Linked DNA regions of Homo sapiens: region 2 is linked to region 1. Evidence: promoter capture Hi-C in human tissues and cell types (Jung and others, 2019). All regions are on one chromosome and are shown on one strand. Each heading gives the region's core, a stretch centred on a gene start or on the middle of the fragment in contact. The rest is flanking DNA. Distances are from core to core; before and after follow the strand shown. Region 1 holds the start of LRP6 (LDL receptor related protein 6). Region 2 overlaps PRH1-TAS2R14 (PRH1-TAS2R14 readthrough).

The links. The method cuts DNA at HindIII sites, captures the fragments that hold promoters and counts their contacts. A contact is called where the count stands out against the background at its distance.
Region 2: a contact is called between a fragment that was not itself captured here and the fragment with the promoter of LRP6 in region 1, in 1 of the 25 tissues and cell types used here (heart right ventricle).

Annotation. Positions count from the first base shown.
Region 1 is chr12:12,262,823-12,268,295 of GRCh38, forward strand. It overlaps LRP6 (LDL receptor related protein 6), which reads right to left and starts at 4,222. Exons shown (of 23, transcript NM_002336.3): 1 at 3,859-4,222. The coding sequence starts at 3,913. RefSeq lists enhancers at 552-1,052, 4,229-4,865, 4,403-4,452 and a silencer at 3,913-4,222. The HindIII fragment of the contact is 18,079 bases long and covers 1-5,473 here.
Region 2 is chr12:11,121,709-11,127,213 of GRCh38, forward strand. All of the region lies in intron 1 of PRH1-TAS2R14 (PRH1-TAS2R14 readthrough), which reads right to left. All of the region lies in intron 1 of PRH1-PRR4 (PRH1-PRR4 readthrough), which reads right to left. It also overlaps a transcript of PRH1 not described here. Among named protein-coding and RNA genes, the nearest start is that of TAS2R30, 10 kb to the right of the region's middle. The HindIII fragment of the contact is 7,268 bases long and covers 500-5,505 here.

The DNA.
Region 1 (5,473 bases), core at 2,972-5,471:
AGAATGAATAATAAATCCCTGCCCCATCTTTAATTAACCTACCTTTATTAAATTACAGTATCTCTGAATCTGAGTTTCCCCACTTACAAATAAACTGGTGAGGCTCAAACGACCAAGATCCCTTTCACTTTTAAGAATGTGTGAATCTGGGCCAGGCGTGGTGGCTCACACCTGTAATCCCAGCACTTTGGGAGGCCGAGATGGGCAGATCACCTGAGGTCGGGAGTTCGAGACCAGCCTGACCAACAAGGAGAAACCCCATCTCTACTAAAAATACAAAAAAAAAAAAAAAATTAGCTGGGCATGGTGGTGCATGCCTGTAATTCCAGCTACTCAGGAGGTTGAGGTAGGAGTATCGCTTGAACCCGGGAGGCGGAGGTTGCAGTGAGCCGAGATCATGCCATTGCACTCTAGCCTGAGCAACAAGAGCGAAACTCTGTCTTTAAAAAAAAAAAAAGAATGTGTGAATCTGGCCGGGCGTGGTGGCTCACGCCTGTAATTCCAGGACTTTGGGAGGCCGAGGTGGGCGGATCACGAGGTCAGGAGATGGAGACCATCCTGGCTAACACAGTGAAACCCCGTCTCTACTAAAAAATACAAAAAAATGAGTCCCAGCTACTCAGGAGGCTGAGGCAGGAGAAAGGCGTGAACCCGGCAGGCAGAGCTTGCAGTGAGCGGAGATCACACCAATGCACTCCAGCCTGGGCAACAGAGCAAGAATCCGTCTCAAAAAAAAAAAAAAGAATGTGTGAATCTGCACCTGTAATCCCAGAACTCCGAGAGGCGGAGGTGGGAGGATCACTTGAGCCCAGGAGTTTAAGACCATCCTGGGCAACATAGCAAAACTCTGGCTCTATAAAAATTAGCCAAGTGTTATGGCACACAACTGTGGTCCCAGCTACTTGGGAGGCTGAGGTGGGAAGATCACATGAACACAGGAGGTCCAGGCTGCAGTGAGCAGCGATCATGCCACTGCACTCCAGCCTAGGCAACAGAGCAAGACCCTACCTCCAAAAAAAAAATAGGAATTCGTGAACCTGGCCAAGCATGGTGGCTCACACCTGTAACCTGTAATCCCAGCACTTTGAGAGGATCACTTGAGGCCAGGAGTTGGAGACCAGCCTGGGCAACATATCAAGACACCCCCACACCAACCCCATATCTACAAAAAATTGGGGGCATAGTGGCACGTGCCTATAGTTCAGAGCTTTGGGAGGATGAAGCAGGAGGATCACTTAAGCCCAAGACTTTGAGACTGCAATGAGCTGTGATTACACCACTGCACCCCAGACTGAGTGATGAAGCAAGACTTTGTCTCTTTAAAAAAAAAAAAATTGTGAACGTTATACAAATTAAATCTCAAATCATGAAAGCATTTGAGGATATGTCCCTGAACAAGCAAAAATTATAGCAAAAAGTAACATTAACAAGGTACTCCATATTATTTCATTTAAAACACCCAATAACCCTGCAAACTAGTCAGGTATCATTATCCACACTACCAGTAAAGAAACTGAGACCTAGAGAAGCGGACTAGACCAGAACCACAAAGTTATGAAGTTGTGACACTTGGGCTTTAAATCCAAGATTTTAGTATTGAAATTCCCAAATCTTTCCTTTATACCTTGTCATGTGATGATAGAGATAGGGACACAGCACTAACAGTATTCCCTGGCTTTCTGCTACTAATTCAACAGGGCTACAGGACAGAAGGTCTCCCAGACTCTCACATACCCCATCACACCCAGCCAATGTTAAAGCCCCAATTCTTTGTGGGGGAAAAAAATGACCTAAATGCAACAAATCAATCAGATTTTTCTCCTTGGAGTCCAAGGTTGACTAAATATCTTTACTATAACAGAGGATGACATTCTCAAAGAATGAATTAATTCTAAATTATGAACAAAAATATTTTACATCAAAAGACAGTTTTACTTCAAATAATATGTACTCACAGCTAAGTACAGTACTGTTACATATTAGAAGACCACCTTACACCATATTTCGCCACATTTAAAACGAGAGCTCCACTTCTGAAAACTTTGCTAGTGGAAACGAGACAATTTAAACTATTACCTCTTCCAGGTCTTGTTACATAAATAAGTGCAACCTATCTAAATTCCAATAATGAACAAACCCAGCTCTGGTCTCAAAGCTGGTGTTAAACAAACGGCATTTACATCACACGCTTCTCCTCCAAGAAATACAACTAGACAACCAGAAACATCCCAAGTTATAAGTTTTCCCACGACTCTAACCAATCAGCTGGTTCTCATATTTGTCAGCCCTATTAACCTTATGTCTTAAAATACATACATATTCTTATGTCAAATATAGTTGTTTCTAACAGCTACAGCAAAACCCCTTTCAATAGAGTATGCCAATAATAAAATAAGTATATACTTATGAAACCTCTCCAGTACGTAACACTTCATTAAAATTTCTGCCACAAAAATCTAATGAACACTACCTTTCCGGGGTTTACATGTGGGAAAACTTTGTAATATGCTTAGAGTATCAAGTAATATAACATGCAAACACAATGCTGCATTACTACAGAGTAACTGAAGAAAGTATTTCTCCTCCTCCAAAAAAAAACTCAATCATTCTCATCCGAAATACATATACACAGTACACGCAAAAATATACACCTGTCACAGACTATTAGTTACTATTAGTGTTCTGTAAACTTAAATTAGTTTGGAGAACTTAACAAAAGTTTAGCTTGTTAACACCTAAAAATCTCCAGCGACCAGCGGTCACATGCCTGAAAAGAACTTACTATGAACGCCAGTAAGAACTTTACCAAACCAAAACTACAAGCCACCGTATCGAGCAGTACTTAAATTCCTCTGCTGGTAAATGCTCCACAGCCATCACAGCCATCTCAAGTTCAACACTAAATAGTTTGAGAAGAGCTGCCGACGGGCCAGTCAAAAATCTTTGTGAACTGTCACAAAAGTCACAGAGCATGTGTCAGCTTTGCAGTCCAATTCAAAACATCATAGTGCCATCGAATTCAAGCGATTCCCAGAGCAAATTATCTCGAACAGCCTATGCAATTTACCAAAGTGCCAAGCAGTCCCCAGGGGTGCAGAGCAAATTATCATTTTGGTCCCAGGACCGGCTCCTCTTCACACGAGGATGAATTTCCCTACTTAGTGCCAACTGTACACTTGCATACTCCGAAAATAGGGGCAAGCCGTGAATACCAGAGGTTACAAGGGCAATGTTTTATTTTATTATGGGCTGAAGCTCAGAAGGCTCCCAATGCTGAAACGCTCGACCTATAACCCCGGAGTCACTTTCCAACTGCGCTCTCACCCAGGGTCATTATATCCCAAACGGAAGCCAATCATTACCTGTAACAAGGCCTGGAAAAAATAGCAAGAGGGCTTTAAAAGTTCACCTAAGAAACACCGAAACGGGGTGGGGAGTGGGTGGCGGGGCTTCGATGGATAAGGCCAACCTTAAAGCATCTCGGACTCAAACATTTTAAAAGCCAAAATACGTACAAAGACCCTTTTCCCTGGAAGACCCCAGGCAGAGAGAGGCACACAGACACTCAGTCATCCCGACAGCATGGGGTGCCAAGGGTTCCCTAAGACCAGCAGCCGGGATCGAAGCTCCGATGTGTCCGGGGAAGGTCTGGGAAGCCAGGCCAGGTCCGCATTGTGGCCGGGCGGTGCACGCAGCCCCTGCTCCCGGGCCCCTTTCTCTCCCCCTCCCCACGACCAGGCCTCTCCCCGCTCCTCTCCCCTTCTCCCTTCCTCCGTCCCTCCCCTCCCCCTAGACACATACAACAAGGCCACCTCCCCCCGAACCCCACCAACTTTCCAGTGCCCCCACTCTTCCCACCTCTCAGGAGCACACAGAAGCTGCAGGCCAGGAGGCTCCTCAGGACGGCCCCCATCTTCCCTTCTCGCGTTCTCTTCTCTCACCGGCGAGGGGTGGCCAGAAGTGGGGGAGGCGAGGAGCCGGGGCGGCCGCCGCAGCGGCAGGGCTGCACGCTCATACTTCCCAGCTTCCCAGCGAGAGAAGAAAGAAAGGGGCACGTCAAGGTTCCGCGCGCGCCGCCGCCGCCCTCTCTACCGCGCCGCTCGGCCCCGGGCTCGCGCGACGCCAGCGTCTGCTTCCATCCCGCCGCCTCCTCCCCCGGCGCCCCGCTTCCCCCGCGCAGCTCCTCATTCAGCCTCTGCCTCGCGCAGCGGCGCAGGGATACGGTCGGCACCGCCTCCTAGGGTCGCCGCGACCGTGTCCCTGCGCGCAACGAGCCCCTTCTCCCGGTACTGCCTCCTGTACGGCCAGGGAAGGGAGTCGGCAACCGCACGCACAGCCTCTGCCTGAGACCCTGGGAGAGGTTCTGGGCTAGCAGAGGCGAACTGGGAGGGAAAGCCTCCTCCCGGTGGCGCATTCCAGCGGGATTCTTTCCCGGACCGGCCGCTTCGGCCCTCCCCGCGGAGGGCGTGAGGCGGCGTTGAACAACATTGGAGCCGGCGTGGTCGGGACTACTTTCTGCGGCTCGGCCGGGCAGCCGTCTGCCCCGCTCTTTGTGCGGCCGCCGCCGGCAGGGCCAGGTGGGGCTCCGGTCTCGCGCCCCCAGCCACCTGAGACTGCCCAGCCGCGGTGCACGCGCGGGGAGCCACGGCGGATCCCGTTGCGGGGTGATGAGCTCCGTCTTCGGGGTTGGAAATCGGTTTCAGCATCCTTTTTTTGGGAGGGCGGAATTTTTGAACGCTGTTTACACCGGCTTTCAGCGTGGATCTGGTGAACGATATTAAAACGCCAATTCAAAACTGAGATTGTCATTTTTCTCCCGCCTTCCCAGAAATACAAACTGCCCCCAGAATTAAGCCCGACCAGCTAAAGATTTCTAAACTGGCAGATAAAATTCCAAGATAAATGCCTCAAAACCTAAGAGCAAAGGGACAATTGGACAAGACTATTTAGGATTTTACAAGTTGCATATAATAACGAATGTTTGGCATGCTTCGATTATCAATTCTCAGCTTGAGAAGGAAAAGATTCCCTAGAATCTCAGACTGTGCACAGCCTCTGCTACTCCCAGTGCATTGGGCATTCAGGAGTAATGGCCCAGACGCCCCCTGAAATCACCTGCCAGGCTTTCGTCTGGGCAGAGGCGCTCCAACAGTTAACCCTAATGGAGCCATCAGATGCATCCTGCCCAGCTGTCACACGCCCTTACCTGGAGGCAGATGGGCAAGAAAGTGGAGCTGCTACCACAATGTTAACAAGTACCTCAGTGACATTGGAGTTCACTAGTGCTTGAACACAAGTTATCATATTTGACACTCAAAACTACCCTGGGGAAAGGCAGGTTTTGTTACTTATTCTTTATTGCACAGAGGAGCAAAATGAGAACCTGAGAGGTTAATGACTTACCCAGGGCCACTCAAGTAATGAATAGCAGTACCTCAGCCCAATCCAGGTCTCTGACTTAAGCCACTCCGCT
Region 2 (5,505 bases), core at 2,884-5,383, 1.1 Mb before region 1:
TCTACGTATGTTTGTCACTCAAATTTAATTGTGTGCATCATTATCTAACAACAACATAAAATAAGAATTCATAATGAAATAAAACCTACCCCAAAGATACATTCTCCTCATTGATTTAGAGTTGAATGTCTTTACCATCCAAAAAATTAGATGTTCAAACAATGATAGTTAAGTTCATACATGTGGTACAAATTACAATGGAAAACAGCAATAATTTGCTGATAAAAGCTATATGTTCTTAATTATAAATAGAGATAATTCTTCAAATGAAATATCATACAATAAACTATCATATAATAAACATACATATATATGTGAAATGTACTCGGCTTCATAATTTATGGTCAGTGTTGTTATTCATACACATGCACACATATACACACATATATATATGCGTGTGCACTCCTGTAACTTGCTTCAATGAACAGGAAATTAGTAGACTTTACACAGAGATTTAAGATGGCTTCCACATTGGAGTTTCTTGCTCTTTTCCATTTACCATAAGGACATCATCTGGCTATTACACTGTTCCCAGAAGAAGAATGAGAAACTAATGGAGTCAGAATGCCACTGCCTGATCTAGCCTAAATCATCCAAACTCTATCTTCAAGATGCAGTACGTGGCCCATCTCCAATCACCACAGCCATCCATCAAACCCAGCTTAGAAAAATGAAATCCAAAGACATATGAGATACAAATATCTAATGTAGTTTTGGAGGATTTTCTCTTGCAGAAAAACATAAGTGACATAGGTATTCTGCTAAACCAAAAGTGTGGGAAATATGTCCACACTTGTTGTGTCAGGAATTCAGGATACAAGGGAAAAATAGTTGGAGAATGTCAAAGTTTTGTCATATGAAGTCAATAATTAAACCTAAAAGAAAAACCTGTTGAAAAATCTGGGGTTGGCAGGAAACATCATGTCAAATTTCCAAAAGTTGCAACTAAAATCAGAAAGTTTCTTCTTAAAATCTCTTAGAGTTATACATGAATGTATACAAATAGTGGATTTTTCCCTTCAGTATATAATGAGCAGGGTAATAATAATTTTCATGGAAAATTTCTCCTAATTAATAATTTTTATAACTAGACTACACACTTAGAAATGGGCCAAAACAAAAATGGAAAACATAGCAATGTATCATAAACACTCATGTAACCATTATGTAGGGCGAGACATGGAACATTGCTAAGAGGCTAGGTTTACCTCAATGCCACTTTCCAATCCCCTACACCTTTCTTCACACCTCTTATGATAAGTACATCCATAATTTATAATGATCTTTTTTTATTTTCTTTGTACTTTACGAACAAAGCATGCAACCCTAAACTCAATAGCTTCGTTTGGTCTGCTTTGAACTGTGTATAGGTGCAATCCTATATGTCCTTATTCATGGCTTCCTGGACTCAACATTATGTATCTGAAATTTAATCACATGGTTGCATGTACATGTGATTCATTTATTTTCACTTCTGTATATTTTTCCATTTTATGATTTTACTGTAATTATTTATCCATCTTTATTTGATATATATTTGGGCAGCTTATTTTTGAGCTATTATTAATAATGCTACAATGAACATTCTTTCACATATCATTTGCTACAATTCCTTTGTGTATATATATCTGGGTGTAGATTTATACGGTCCTTGATTATGATATTCAAATTCTACTCACAGACATAGAAAAGCCCAAAACAGTTTGACTAAATTTATTCCTGTCACTTTATCTCCAGTCTCTTTATTGCTATTTGCATATATCTTATCAATTATACAATTAATCCAACAAGACACTATTGTTTTCTACAGGCAACATTTATTTAGAATTACACACTTATTTTTCATTGTCATTAATTTTATTGCTTCTTGCATGTTCAACTTTGTATTTTCAGTACAACTTTGTATTTTCTCTTGCTCTATTTTCTCTCCTCTAATCTTACAGAACTCCAGAAGTATGTTACATATTCCAACTGTAGCATGAATTTGTTACCCTCTAGTCTTATATTTTCCATCTTTCTCTCAGTGCTTCATTCTTTGTAGCTATCTTCCAATTCACTAATTATCTCTTCTACTCCATCTAACTGGTTAACTCTGTCTATTGGATTCTCAATATTGATAATTCATTTTTTAGTTTTCTTGTTTTAGTGTTCAGAATAATCTTTTATTATCTTTCCATAAATTATTTTCTACAGGGAAACTGAACAAACTAATCTTAACGCCATGTTCTTTTTAAAAGTGTTTTTGATTTTGGGGTTTTTTGTTTTCTGTTTTAGTATGTTAGAAATGAAAATGGTAACAAATTCCTTCTTTTTCCAACACTTTGGTCAGAGAATAGAATAAAAGCTTCATCTTGGAATTTACCTTCAATTTGAAAGAAACCGGAAATGAAGTTCATATAAGTAGCTTTTTTGGGATAGTAGCTTGTCTTGCTGGGTCCTCGCCACACAATCTCCTCACAAGGAAACTCAATGAGTAGCACTGCATTTCAAAATATCATTGCAATAGATAAAATATAGTTCATCAACCACAGCTATGTCATTGTATTCCATGAATTAATTTTCACTTTGCTTATGTTGTAGAAATGGGGCTCTGTGCCTTTGAACTCCATCATTACCTACATGAAATAGAGAAGATGTGGGGGAGGGCTTACTTATTTGATTTGTTTAGCCCTAAAATCCTCTCTTTAGAAATAAGAGCTTGATCATGAAATGGTTTATTTATTTTTCTTATTAAGCAATTTTATTTATACTAAAATCAAAATCTTTTTATAGTGTTCCTTGGATTAGTTTAATATCATCTATAATTGTTTTCTTCAGCAATGTATTTTAAACTGCACTACACTTAACTTTCTAAATCTAAATGTATTCAACTTGACTTGAACTTTGCTGTTTACTAACGTAAATTTCCCACAATGATATCTCTTAGAACTTATGTAAACGTTGTCCAAATTATGTATGTAAATATTTCAAAAATAAATCATTTAATAAGATAGATGTAAATGTAGATGATTATAATAATGATGATAATGTCAGCTAAAAGGGAGAATGTTATTTGATAAATGTGATTTGGGTCTTCTTTTCAATGTACTAGAGTTAAGGGTAGTGGGAGAACACTATTATTCTTTCTCATGGATTTACGATTTTTTTTTTTGACATGGAGCTTCACTCTTGTCACCCAGGCTGCAGTGCAATGGCGCAATATTGGCTCACTGCAGCCTCTGCCTCCCTGGTTCAATTGATTATCCTGCCTCAGCCTCCCAAGTAGCTGGGATTACAGGTGCCCGCCATCACGCCCAGCTAATTTTTGTATTTTTAGAAGAGATGGGTTTTCACTATATTGGCCAGGCCAGTCTGGAAATCCTGACCTCAGGTGATCCACCAGCCTCGGTCTCCCAGAGTGCTGGGATTACAGGCATGAGCCACCATGCCCGGCACAATTCTTGTATTATTCTCAGCATCAGGCCTAGACAAATACCCTCACATAATATTTCGTCAAGAATAATACAAAACCGACACATTTCCAATGATTTACTTGCTATTTTTTTTCTTTTACCACATTCTAAAAATTACAGTAAAATTGACCTCCAGCAAAGAATACTCTCTTGTTGGCTGTTTAATTTTGTTCCACTTTCCTATGAACTTACACAAATACTCTTTGCAATTATAGAGTGAATAAGCTTCATTTCATCTTTTAATAGCATCATTAACAAGTTAAATTCTCTCTACTGCTTATTTACATTCTCAGCTACTGTCACAAAATCTGGGTGATTTTATTATAGCAGTCCAAGTAGTTATACTACATATGTTTTATGCCTTAACAAAATTATCTTTCTACTAATTCTCCTGTAATATTCAAAAAATTTGTAGTATCAAAATATTTTTCCTCACACATGTGTACACATGCATGGTATTATAATCTTTGAATGGTAAAAATATGTGTATTATTATTTCATTTAGGGATAAATTTAGAAAATTGTCCTGTATATTTAATATCGATATTACTATATTGGAAATTCACTAATTTCTGCCACTTTGAAATGTTGTGATCATAAATATCTAAATTGGAAATAAGAAAAAAAGGTGTCTAGCAAAATACAGATGTGCAAAATCTGATGTTTCAAAATAAGAATAACATTAAGAGTGTGGAGGTAGACTTCCTGTTTATCTCTTCCTTTTTAAAATTAATTTAAAGTTTAAAATTTTATCTTGGATTTCTTACTATCATAATGCTCTATTCTTCTTTATTCAGCAAAAATTCTAATTACCATGGTGTCTACAAGAATGTTTTTTCAGCCTATTTTATATTCATTCATTTATTATATGATTCTGCTTTTAAAATATTTTCATTACTATGAAACATAACATATATATAAATTAATAAAGCCTGAAGGTACAGTATAGAAAAAAATTATAGCATTAAGGGTCATGTTACCACATCTTGGTCATGAAGTAGAATTTACCAGCAATCCAGACACTCCCCATATACACCTTCTTGTTGATATCATTTCCCTTTTGTTTCCTCCGTCCCTACTGTGCCAGTTGTTACAATAATCACTCTTGGGTCTCACTTTAGAATTTCGACAACAATGTAATAAATTGCAATTCATTAAAAATATAGTTTTGTAAACTTTATATAAATGTAATTATACGGAATCATGTTTCCATCTTAATATCTCTCGTATCTATGTAGTGCAAATTTGTTCATTTTCCTTTTTATTAACATTCTTTATAAACGTCTCTCTAGTTGGTTCATTTTGATTGCTGTATAGTATTCTATTGTATGACTATGCAATAATTTATTTATCCATTTTATCACCCATGGACATTTGACAGACTTGTCAACTTTAGCAATTAAAACTCAGTGATATGCATGTGTGTGTATATGTATTCTGATAAGAGTGCAATAGTGGGTCTTCAGATGTGATCCATCATCTTAATCAGATAATGCCATACTCAAAGTAATTGCACTGATTTACAATTCTAGGATTACAATCCTAGAGTGTAACTGTACTAGACATATTTCCTTTAACCAAACATTATGTCAAATGACTTTGGGAAAATATGATTAGTTAACAGTATACTGTAAGGCAAATTTTAGCATTGTTTAACAACTCATTAAAAGGACTCAAAGAAAATAATATGTTGAAATATCAAAATAGTCTATAAGCCTAATGAAGGTGCCCATGGGAAAATACAAATTCTACCATTACTGTTATGGAAAATAATGATGAGTAGTAAACATACCATGTCCGCATTTTTTAAGGCAGGCCTAATACCAATGGACAAGTTTCCCTTTAAGGTCCTGACCTTAATTTCTATGTGCTCCTGATTTCTGACTGTGCAATAACGTTCTTGTTCCTTTTAAATTCTCTGGCTAATGTCAAACAGGAAAGCACCGGGGAATGCTATTGAATGAGTTCAAGGCTGTCTTAATGGAAAACAGGATAATTTCCAAAACAGCTCAAATTAACTCCTATTCAAATACTATATGCTTGTTATAAGATA